3 separate regions of the Homo sapiens genome follow, and regions 1 and 2 are each linked to region 3. Evidence: promoter capture Hi-C in 16 types of primary human blood cells and fetal thymus (Javierre and others, 2016). All regions are on one chromosome and are shown on one strand. Each heading gives the region's core, a stretch centred on a gene start or on the middle of the fragment in contact. The rest is flanking DNA. Distances are from core to core; before and after follow the strand shown. Region 1 overlaps SLC1A3-AS1 (SLC1A3 antisense RNA 1). Region 2 overlaps SLC1A3-AS1 (SLC1A3 antisense RNA 1). Region 3 holds the start of RANBP3L (RAN binding protein 3 like).

The links. Contacts are between HindIII fragments. The CHiCAGO score rates a contact against its expected background, and 5 or more counts as called.
Region 1: a contact is called between a fragment that was not itself captured here and the fragment with the promoter of RANBP3L in region 3, in 3 of 17 cell types (M1 macrophages, monocytes and M0 macrophages). The highest score is 6.1, in M1 macrophages.
Region 2: a contact is called between a fragment that was not itself captured here and the fragment with the promoter of RANBP3L in region 3, in 5 of 17 cell types (M1 macrophages, M0 macrophages, megakaryocytes and 2 more). The highest score is 9.2, in M1 macrophages.

What each region holds. Positions count from the first base shown.
Region 1 is chr5:36,714,089-36,717,812 of GRCh38, forward strand. All of the region lies in intron 1 of SLC1A3-AS1 (SLC1A3 antisense RNA 1), which reads right to left. Among named protein-coding and RNA genes, the nearest start is that of SLC1A3-AS1, 9.2 kb to the right of the region's middle. The HindIII fragment of the contact is 7,263 bases long and covers 1-3,724 here.
Region 2 is chr5:36,696,529-36,700,130 of GRCh38, forward strand. All of the region lies in intron 1 of SLC1A3-AS1 (SLC1A3 antisense RNA 1), which reads right to left. Among named protein-coding and RNA genes, the nearest start is that of SLC1A3-AS1, 27 kb to the right of the region's middle. The HindIII fragment of the contact is 4,957 bases long and covers 1-3,602 here.
Region 3 is chr5:36,300,535-36,304,330 of GRCh38, forward strand. RANBP3L (RAN binding protein 3 like) reads right to left here and starts at 1,368. Exons shown (of 14, transcript NM_145000.5): 1 at 792-1,368. The coding sequence starts at 882. All of the region lies in intron 1 of LOC124900962 (a long non-coding RNA gene), which reads left to right. The HindIII fragment of the contact is 7,999 bases long and covers 1,038-3,796 here.

The sequences.
Region 1 (3,724 bases), core at 1,073-3,572, 410 kb after region 3:
TCTAGCCAACAAGAAACCAATTGTGACTTGGGAATAACATGAGACACTAAATAGCCATTTTCTTCTCCTTAAACCAAGTATCCCTTGTTAGTTTCTTTCTTTTCTTTTCTTTCCTTTTTTTTTTTTTTTTTTTTTTTGAGACAGAGTCTCACTCTGTCACCCAGGCTGGAGTGCAGTGGTGCAATCTTGGCTCACTGCAACCTCCACCCCCTGAGGTTTAAGCAGTTCTCCTGCCTCGGCCTCCCCAGGAGCTGGGATTACAGGTATGTGCCACCACGCCCGGCTAATTTTTGTATTTTTAGTAGAGATGGGGTTCCACCATGTTGCCCAGGCTGGTCTTGAATTCCTGACCTCAGGTGATCTGCCTGCCTTGGCCTACCAAAGTGCTGGGATTAAATACGTGAGCCACCACACCTGGCCCCTTGTTAGTTTCTAAACCATTGATTGAAGAAAACTAGCTAAGGAAGGTGAAAAAGTTTAGTTTCAGAATCCCCAAGGAGATCTTGCCAAGGCCCACACAGGCCCAGGTAAAGGATATTTCACTGACTATTGTGTCTTGCTCAAAAAAATCTAAGGACTTAGGAGGCAGCACAAGGCTGGTGATGTGGCACACATTGAAGGAAGCGACCAAATCTCTCTCTAAATACAAAAGAGAAAAGAAATAAAGTGGAGGTAATTATTTTAGTAATTCAACAGCTCCCCTCCTGAATTACTGGAATAATTGCCCTATCTTTAGTGGAGATTGGATTGTATGCTTAGTAGCGGCTCTAGGCCTGGATCCTAACCGTGGTCTTCAGGGTAGGGTAGTCTTCCAGTCCTCCACTGCTACTGCAAACTTTATGCTCCTTGGCAATGTGAGTACAACCCTCCCCATTTTCATTCCTTAAACACACTCATATCCCCTCCTGTTTAACCCTAAATTCTCAGGGCTTGTCCATCAAGTAGAACCAGGCCATGGAGGGTATTGGCTAGAACAGAGGTTATGGCTCCATAGGAAGGTGTTTAATGTGGCATTATTTTTCAATGGAACCATGGACAGTCAGATGCCATTTTTAATCCTTTATAAGAAGTCAGCAAAGGAGTAAGAACAACTCCCCAGAATCTCTTGCTAGAATCCTGTCTGGCCCTCAAGGCAATCTCAGCTCTGTCTTGAGGCTTTGTGGCACCCGTCATTGTCTCCCAACTCCTTCCCCCAACATGCACCAATGAAGGCTTCCGCATGTTCTTGCCTTTCTGACCTAAGTTGTGCCTTGCACTCTCCCTCTTATCCCTGTCCTACCCCAGCACACATACACACATGCACACACATGCATGCATACGCACACAATCTTTTGCCCCCACCCCCACGCACACACCCCACACACTGATCTTTTGCCATGACCCCAGTGGTCATAAATAACAGCAGCTTGGAGCTTATATGGGTTCCAGTTGTGGGACCATTTCTGAACTATTGGTCAAGCTCTATGCCTCAATTTTTTTTTTTTTTTTTTTTTTTGAGACGGAGTCTCGCTCTGTCGCCCAGGCTGGAGTGCAATGGCGCTATCTCAGCTCACTGCAACCTCCACCTCCCAGGTTCACGCCATTCTCCTGCCTCAGCCTCCTGAGTAGCTGGGACTACAGGCACCCGCCACCACGCCCAGCTAATTTTTTTGTATTTTTAGTAGAGATGGGGTTTCACCATGTTAGCCAGGATGGTCTCGATCTCCTGACCTCATGATCTGCCCATCTCAGCCTCGCAAAGTGCTGGGATTACAGGCATGAGCCACCGCGCCCGGCCATGCCTCAATTTTTTAATCTCTAAAATGAGGATAACAAAACATCTATTACAAAGAGTTGTTTTTGAGGTACTAGAAAAAATGCCTGGTGCAACACATACTAGCTCTTATTATTATGGGACATGGTGTCTGCGATGGTGTGTGCTGACCATGCCCATAGCTCCCTTCAGAGAAAAGCGATCACAGGTAGACCTTTCTTAAGATGCCATAGCTAATGTTCACTGAATTAAAGGTGAGGACCCAAGCCAAAGGGAGCCACATACAAGTAAACAGAAAATCAGTAAGGCCAGTTGCCAAGGAGAAAACTCTGCTTCAGATGCTACCCAATGGGGGCCACCATTCAATATGGAGTGCCCTGATAGAACTTCTCTCTTAAAATTTTTGAATATAAAAGCTCTCAGAAAATAAAACAAGAGAGGCCTGCTTGGAAAGAGATGAAAAGATGACCAGATCACTAGCAGGGCCATCATACTCTGAACGGCAATGATTCACTGAGTTATCCATGAAACCCACTGTGTACATTTAAGCCTGGAAAGCAAAGGATCCAGGGACAGCATAGATGCTGAGATAATTTCCCACATTTCTTTCCTTCTGATGTATCTTTTTCTCAAAACCTATCCCTAAGCAGTGATTTTCAAACTTTAGTGTTAATAGGAACCTGTGAGATTTGTGAAGATGTAGATTCCTGGGTGCTCCCACTAGAGATTCTGATTCAGGAGAACTGGGATGGGGCCTCAGATAGGGTCACTATTTGTGGCTACACAACTTACTCACTGCGTTCCTCCAGGAAGCACATTCATACTGACTGTGATGTGAATGCCTCCTGGGAGTCGTGCAGTACACAAGCTGCCCCACTGAATGTGGCAGCCAGGAGTAACTCATATAAGTGGCTCCAGTCTCACAGTAAGAAAGAGTGAAGGTAACCTGGATACCTTGTCATCTAAAAGAATTCGGGGTCAGGCATGGTGGCTCATGCCTGTAATCCCAGCACTTTGAGAGGCCAAGGCAGGCAGATCACTTGAGGTCAGGAATTCGAGACCAGCCTAGCCAACACGGTGAAACCTCGTCTCTACTAAAAATACAAAAATTTAGCTGGGCGTGGTGGCAGGCGCCTGTAGTCCCAGCTGCTTGGGAGGCTGAGGCACAAGAATCGCTTGAATCCTGGAGGCGGAGGTTGCAGTGAGCCAAGATCATGTCATTGCATTCCAGCCTGGACGACAGAGTGAGACCTTGTCTCAAAAAAATAAAATAAATAAATAAATAATAAAAGAATTTGGTGAATACTAGTCCCCTGCTGACCCATTGCAGGCCCTAGTCACCACTCATAACCATACAGTATCTACAGCTGGCAAGGACTTCAGTAGAAAGGGAAAAGGTTAGGCAGAGAAAGGACCAGCACATTTGTATTTCATTATATACAGAAAGTTTCAATAAGAGGCTTAGAGTTTAGTCTAAATATATGTCCCTTCTGAGTGCTACTGGCTGTGAAGCAATCGGAATGAAACCAAATACAAAGAGTGCAGAATGAATCGCTGCTGAAAATCTTACAACACCCTGAGGCACTGGCATTGTGCTCCCTGCTCCCTGCCTCTCATTAAAAATACTGCTTTCCAAGCCCCATTAATTGGGAGGGTCTCAATATAGTTAGGGAGTAGGAAGACTCCACAGGCCTTTGAAAAGATAATTGTGCATAGAGAGAAAGGATTTATCATCTACCAAGTGAGCGCAAGTCAACAGGTTTTTGCAGAGCACTGTTAGGGGTTGATAGGATAAAACGGAATTTAAAGACTCCATCCCCAGCTACCCAAAGAAACTGATGTCTTTCATGGGGAAGCGGGACACAATTAAAACACAGAAACACATTGAAGGACAAGGAAGAGATATGTCACGAAGTGCCAAGTTACTGAGCCTGTACATGCAATTAGAGTTCAGAAAACCAAGAGAACAGT
Region 2 (3,602 bases), core at 852-3,351, 400 kb after region 3:
TAAGAAAACAATCTACATTGGGCATTGGGGTATCTTATTTAACTCTCAAAACAACTTCTTTGATGTTAAGTTCCACATACCTATTAAGCATCCAAATGTTGATTCCCTTCTTCCTTCTGTCATTTTATTTAAGGCACGCTCTATTCCTTCAAAGTCTTGAGTCCCACTTCCTTTCTATCATTTTTTGTCTGGCTTACTCCATTGAAATAATAGCTAATATTTATGGAGTGCCTACTATGAGCCAGGTGTTGTTCTGAGATGTACACTGTTAAAATCGAGCTATGTCAGCCCTCTGAAGTCAAGACTATCATCTTCCCTCTGTTTCACTGATGAAGAAAATGAGGTGGGGTGAGTTTAAGCAGGTTGCCCAAGGCCACAAGTCTTGGGACTAAATTTTTAAACCCAACACTGTAGCTCCAGAAGGCACACTCTTAACTTTTGAGCTGAATTTGACTCTTTGCCTTCTGTTGTAATAATAGCTAATGCTTATTGAGTGATTATTAAGTGCTGGGTTCTTATATATATTATCTCATCTAATCTTTACAAAAACCTATGAGATCATTATTATCATTATCTTCATTCTACAGATGAAAAAAACTGAGGTTAAATGATCCGCCCGAGGTCACGAAGTCAACAAATGGTGAAATTGGAATTCCAACTTGGATAGTTGGATTCTGTAGTCTTTGGCCTTAACCATCCTTCTCCTGGAGGGGATGCTGGAGTTATGTAGTTCCAGCCTCCCAATGAGCCTGTGATCTCGAAGGCAGAGCAGTCTCTGCTGGTAGAAGGCACTTCCTTGCCAGATGGTTGATGACAGTGATAGTGATCTGGCTACGCTGGTGAGGCCAGTCCTGCCTTTGTGGCTGCACAGTAGCGCAGCTTCAAGGAGAGGTCAATAGAAAGGCCTCAATGACTCTCAGGTGACTCTCAGCAGATTTCCTGCCCAGTGTCTAAAGGCAAGGGACAATAATACTGACACTAAGAGAGCTCTCAATTCAATGTGCCATCCCTGACATGGGTTCTTGTCATTCCCTTAATTTAAACTCTGCAGTGGCTTCTCATGGCTCCAGGATAAAGTATAAATTCCTGCACGGAGTGTCAGGGTCTCTGATTACTGAACCCCTGCTTCCCTCTCCATCCTGATTTGCAGTCCTCGCCTCTGTTGGAAGGAAATAGCCACAGAACAAACTTGCCCCCCATGGCACTGTGCTCTCATAACTCCAGGCCTTAGTTACACATGCTGGTCCTCATCTGGAAACATCACCTCCCTACCCCAACTGTCCCCTCGCACCCCAAACCACTCGGCCCACCTCCTTGTTGACTCCAACTCCTACTTCAGTGGAGGCAGCAGGTGTTTCAGGAAGCCTTTCCAGACCCCTCTTTGTTCCCCTTGGCCTCCCAGGTTACTGATATCATGGCAGAATGTGGTCTGTCTCCCACCAACTATATGCTTCTTTAGGGCAAAAAGTGGGTTTTTTAAAAAACCATTGTACCCCAGTGCCTGGCACAGAGTAAAAAAATAAATTTAAGTATATATATATATAAATTTAAATTGTATATATATATGTATGTAAAATGGTGAATTTCAAATGACCATTGTTAGCAACTATTTGAGTGCTGCGCACTTCCCCTTCCATTCTTTCCCAGTACAGGTGTTACTGACATTTTTGGTGAGACAATTCATAAGGTGGGAATGCCCTGAGAATTGCAGGCATTTGACATCCCTGAGTCCTGGACACCAGATGCTGGTAGGTCCCCACCCCTCTACCATCCCCATCACCCTTTCCCATTTTCCACCTTTTCATCCTTGTTGCTGTGACAATGAAAAATACACCTTTACATATTTTTTTAACATCCTCGCAGAGGTACCTTCCTCAGAACCACTGTAGCTAAAAGGTGTTTCCGATTCGGACAGAACATACTTTCCTTGAATCGGGCATTCACAATGTTTATGGAAAGTTTACATTTCATCTCTAATGCCAATGCTTCTGCATATTTATTTATACATTCTGTATATTTCTAATGCCATTGCTTCTGTATATTTCACCTCTAATACCATTGCCTGTCATGTGTAAGCTCCAGGAGACCCTCTTGGGTGACAGTGAACTTGAGCTGTGTAGCAATGACATTATCATGATATGAGTCTGCCCCTGATAGGGATAAAGGGTAAGGAGGGGAGAGGAACTCAGAGAGATAAAATGTTAATCACATTGTTAGGGCAGGGATGACAATAGTATTCACCTTTTCTACTTGACCAACTTAATGAAAACAGTAAAATTCTCTTGGGGAATTCTCAGTATCCATTGTTAACATCAATTACACAAGCAGTAGACATCAGGTCTGTGTCAGGAGCAAATGGCTGACCTGAAGAGATGCCTTATGTGCTTTGAAGGTAGTGCTAGGAGGGCTTACAAGTTATGTTGAATATTTGACATTGCTGATACCCAGTTGTTTTGGGAAAGTAAAAATCCTCCCTTTGATTGACTGGTGGTCTCAGTTTCCTTCTCTGCAATGGGGATTTTTTTTTTTTTTAATGCTTCTCTGTCTAACTGAGTAGAGCAAGGAAAAACCTCAGGAATTTCAGAAATGAATGTACCATTCACCTTTCTATTTTGAAGGCTAACTATTGCTTAAGTCAGGCCTTGTATCTTCATTATCAGTGTCAGCACATCAAAGTGTTAAGTATGGGACTGTGTTATGAAAGAGACCATGAAACTCTACTATCATTTCTTTTATACTTATAGGCATTGATCACTTTAATCAAAGATAAAACACCTTGTTTAAAACAATTAGCTTTGACAATACATGTATAAGCAGAACCTTAAATTGTAAATGTGTTCATTTTCTTCTTCCCTACTACACATATTAAATAATAGAGACAAGAAAAGTAGGTGGAAGATGATTCCAAGTAACTTTGGGGCATTATTACAAAGTGAAGCTGGTAAGATTTTTGTCTTTTTGACAAATTCAAGGAAGCCTGCAGAAAAAATCTTGTTTCAGGAGTACATTTTCACTTAGCTGTTCTCTAAGTAGAAATGCATTACTCCTAGAAAGAAAAATGAAAGTTCTTCAACTGCCGAAGACAAAATGACAGATTTGGCTTCCAGCAATACATTCTTGACAGCTACTAGAGTTTCAGGAAAAGAAAACAAGAAAATTAAATTTGACAGAAATGAAGAGGGGGAAAAAAGAAGCAATTTTTTCTAGTTAGCATCTCAATGTCTTTGGAGGGATTTTAGGGCAATTCCATAACAGACCACTTAGGCATCTCCCCCATGTTCCCCTATAGATGTGAATGTTATTTTAATGGAGCTGCCACCCTATAGACAACAGGTGGTGTCTACACGTGAGTCCACAGACTGACTGCATGATGACTTGCTCAAGAGAACTTGAGAACAAACGGGAGCCACGACACGCTTGGAAATGAATTGTACAGCTTTCCATCAGACTTCATTTCTGTAAACTTAAGAATATACTTCTGCAGAATTTTGCAAAAGCCTGTACTCAAGTTTGGGCTTCAGATGGAGGAGCTTGTTTTTTCCATGTTTGGACAGCTATGTGATCCAATATGGCAGGAGCTATTAAAATGTAAATTAATTTAC
Region 3 (3,796 bases), core at 118-2,617:
AAAAAGATCTATCCTAGGTTATTGAGGAGAAGTTAGAAGTGTCTGGTGAATCCTTAACCTCTGTGGAGTGATGATGTCATCCATGAGAGACCCAGCCTTTCCCACAAGTGTCATTTGCTGTCCCTGACAGGGTGGATTGGAGGGATCATCTTGTCTATTCATGTCAACCATCTGACACTAACTCAGCTGGCTGGAGAGTGGATTTGAAAATTTAAAAAGACTGATGGTGAAAATGGCTGGGAGGTAGATAGTTTAGTTTGAATGAGTGCCCAGCAAGTGAAATGTGACACTTTTCCCTGACTGTCTCCAGATGTCCCTGGACCATAAAAAGGAAAGAGTCAAGAATATATTTATTTTTCCCACAATGAATGAGCCAGAGATCCAGACAAACTTAGGCTTAAACAAAGTGAAAAAAGTGTCCCACCAGTGGTACTATGGTAGAGAAAGCTCCAGGCTAACTTAAAGCTACTCTCAGCTGAAATCCCCCTTGTAGCTGACTCAGCCTTGCTCAGATGGGTGTTTTGAATTAGACAAAATCTAGCATACTCTAAAAAACACAGTGGCTAGAAGTTTAAGCATGTAAGTTTCAGAATGACAGCTCCAAGGAATATGCATTCTTGACAGTCTTCCATAGTCCTCTAAAAATCAATAGTGAATCCAAGTTAACCCACCCTTATGCATCACTATTATGTCAGAGCTTCCCCGGGTCCTTCACCAGCCCACCATTCTTCCTGGAATGCAAATGCACAGAAGGTCACAGAATATGCAACTCATGAGCTGGACGGACTCACCTTGCTGTCGCCGGTCCTCCTGCAGCTTCAGTTTACAGGTGTGCAAACTGCCAGGCAGGTGGCTGCTGCCTTTTCTTGGTATGGTAGTCATGGTCCTAGCAGTATGGCTGTGACTCAAGGATCACTAGGGCACCTCCTTCTCTGGCCAGTCACCTAAAGTGGCCTTCACCAGACACCCAGAAATACATAGATTCATGCAGATCTTGTCTTTGCATGTACAACATATACTCCTCTACTAAACTTCCAAGCTTTTTCCAGTCATGATTCTTGAAATAAATAATCACCAATGTTACTTCTCCTAAATATAAAGATGCCAATTCATTTGGTTAAAAACACAACTTAATTCCTTCATTTCAAAACAAATTGAAACTAAACCTCCTTATAGAGTAAAATTCTACAAATTAACTATTTCTAACAGATTACACTTTTGTCATTTTTAAATTCCTTTTGGCGACATGAAATCCAATGCCTCCAGTATTTAGAGAAGGCTGCTAAAATAATACAGACACAAAGAAAAGAAAAAGTGCTGCTGAGTTAAGTCAAGTGATTTCTAAGCCTGATCTGAGTTACCCTCTGTGACAGCTGAAAGTGTACAGTTCTTAAGGGACTCTGGAAGGAGGAGGAGCAAAGTGGGCTAGGATGATTAGCATAAAGAGGCAGGCAAGACGGGCATTGGAGCTGCTTTGAATAATAGTGAACAAAGCACAGATTCTAAAGATGCCCTGCCCTTATGTTACAGTAACTGAGTACCTGATTTCTGCTACTTTGTTTGTAATTAAAATGCAAGCTGAAAGCAGGAGTTTATACTGCAAGGACATTCATTTGTGCATGTGAAATCTAAAAGGTATAAATGGAACTGGTAATGAGCTCATGGAAATGTACTGCTGGAACTTTCAATTTCTGTAAACACCTCCTAGTCTTCGGAAGGGAGCAGTTAGAGGGCAGCCTTCCTGCCAAGGCAACTATTTGGAGTTCTGGAAGAAAAATAAACACACAAAACATTATCTTTCCAGAGTCCTATTTCTGTTTCCCACTTAGAGTTCTTATTGCTACTTCTAGGTCATAGGAGAAAGTAATTTCCAGTTTTACTCGTTGGCTATTTCCTTACTGTTTGGAAACATAAACCCCAAACACCATTAATTTAACTTGAGAGCTTGCCATAACTGAAGTCATAATGAATGCTGGTAGGTCCTGCCCTTCAAGAGTCACAGCTCTTCGCAGATTCAGAAAGAAGGTAGTGGGCAGGACTAAGGAGAAAGGCAGAGCTGTTTAGCCTCGAAGTCTGGACTCTGCAGCTTCTTATGTGCATTTGGAAATTGGTGTTAAACTTGACACTGTAATGAATTTACCTCCTAACCAGATCTGGGTGGCTGCCCTCATTTTACTTTGAGGCAATTAACAATTCCCCAAGTATAGTCTGGTTTATGAAAATTTTTATGAAGTAGGTGATTGATCTTTTATAATTCTTGAATGCTTTAATTGTTTCAGTAGTCTATCTACTGCAGTTTTAGGCTAATCACAGTGTAACAGATGACAGAAGTGTTGTGCTACTTTGAAAGAGAGTCTTGTTATTGGAGAGTCATAGTTTCTACTTTAAATGTCTGCTATTCATCTCATCTTCCACAAAAGCCATGGTGGAGAGACAAGGTGATTTTTCCTGAATATGTAAAGTTATTGTTATTCTATCAAGTTATGTACCTCACTAATAAGCATATTATTATACAGGTAAGTTAAATAACCTACAAAACTGTAAGCCAGCCCTTTTGAGAAATACATTTAAAATGTTTTATGATGAAAAAATTTAAAAATACATGAATAGGAGAGAATAGCACAATAAGCCCTGCATACTCATCACTTGGCTTCAATATTATCAACTCATAGACAATCGTGTCTTAAAACTATGTGTTTCATTATAGCTGTTCTCCCCCTTATTACACCACTGGAGTTGAAGCATCCAGACATCATTGCATTAATAAATATTTCAGTGTATATTTCTAAAATGTGAGGATTTAAAAATAGATAACCATAATAAGATAGTCACGCACATAACAATTAAATATGATTATTTGATGTAATTAAGCATCCACACAGTGTTCTTATTTTCCTGATTGTCTCATAAACTTTTTTATCTTTACATTTTTTGCAAATTGGGACCCAAAGGTCCACACATTGTATTTGGTTGATATGTTTCTCAAGTCTTTTTTAATCTATAGGTTCATCTCAGAGAGAAATGTTGCTTGGAGATGAACATCTACACTTACCCTAATTTATGTCTGATTTTTTCAAGGAAGCCCCCTAGATGCCTCCATTTTTCTTACTCAGGAAAAAAAGAGAAAAAAAAAGGGTGGTCATCTGGCCATGGAGGCTAAGACATCCAGCTTTCTTGCCATGGTGTTCTCATTCATATACAGTGCAACCTTGACCCAGCCACTTAACATTTCTGGGTTTGTGTCTTCATTTAGCATATGAAACAAATGTTTGCTAAGCAATGGGATAAATTATTCAACACTCATTCTATGGATATAAAGGCCTGGGAAAGGGAGGAGTATCCTACTTTGTCTCTGACTAGAGCCTAAGGAGAAAGAAATAGATTTAAAACTAAAATCTGGGTAGGATTTAGGGGTATATTTGAAAATCTAGTCCCTCAGTTTTCAAACTTAGCTAAGAATCATAATTACCTAGGCCATATTGTAAAGATGTAGATTCCCGAGCCCCAACTGCACAGTCTGATGCCTAAGGTGCAATCTGGAATCTATATATTTTTATAAGTCCTCTAGTCTAAATAAACAAGCATTATCTGCTTAAACGGAGCTGGTTTGTTCCACTATTTCATTCATTACATCTTTCTTGAGGGCCGAAGAAACCAAACCCTCCTTAAACAGTAATTTCAAGTGCCACAACGTAAGGGGACAGGGAGGATACAAAGGAATGCTACTGGTTCCTCTTTCGTGCATCAACGAGGCAGTCCCAGGCAGTGGCCTTGTGAGGGATTAGCTGAGTCAAGG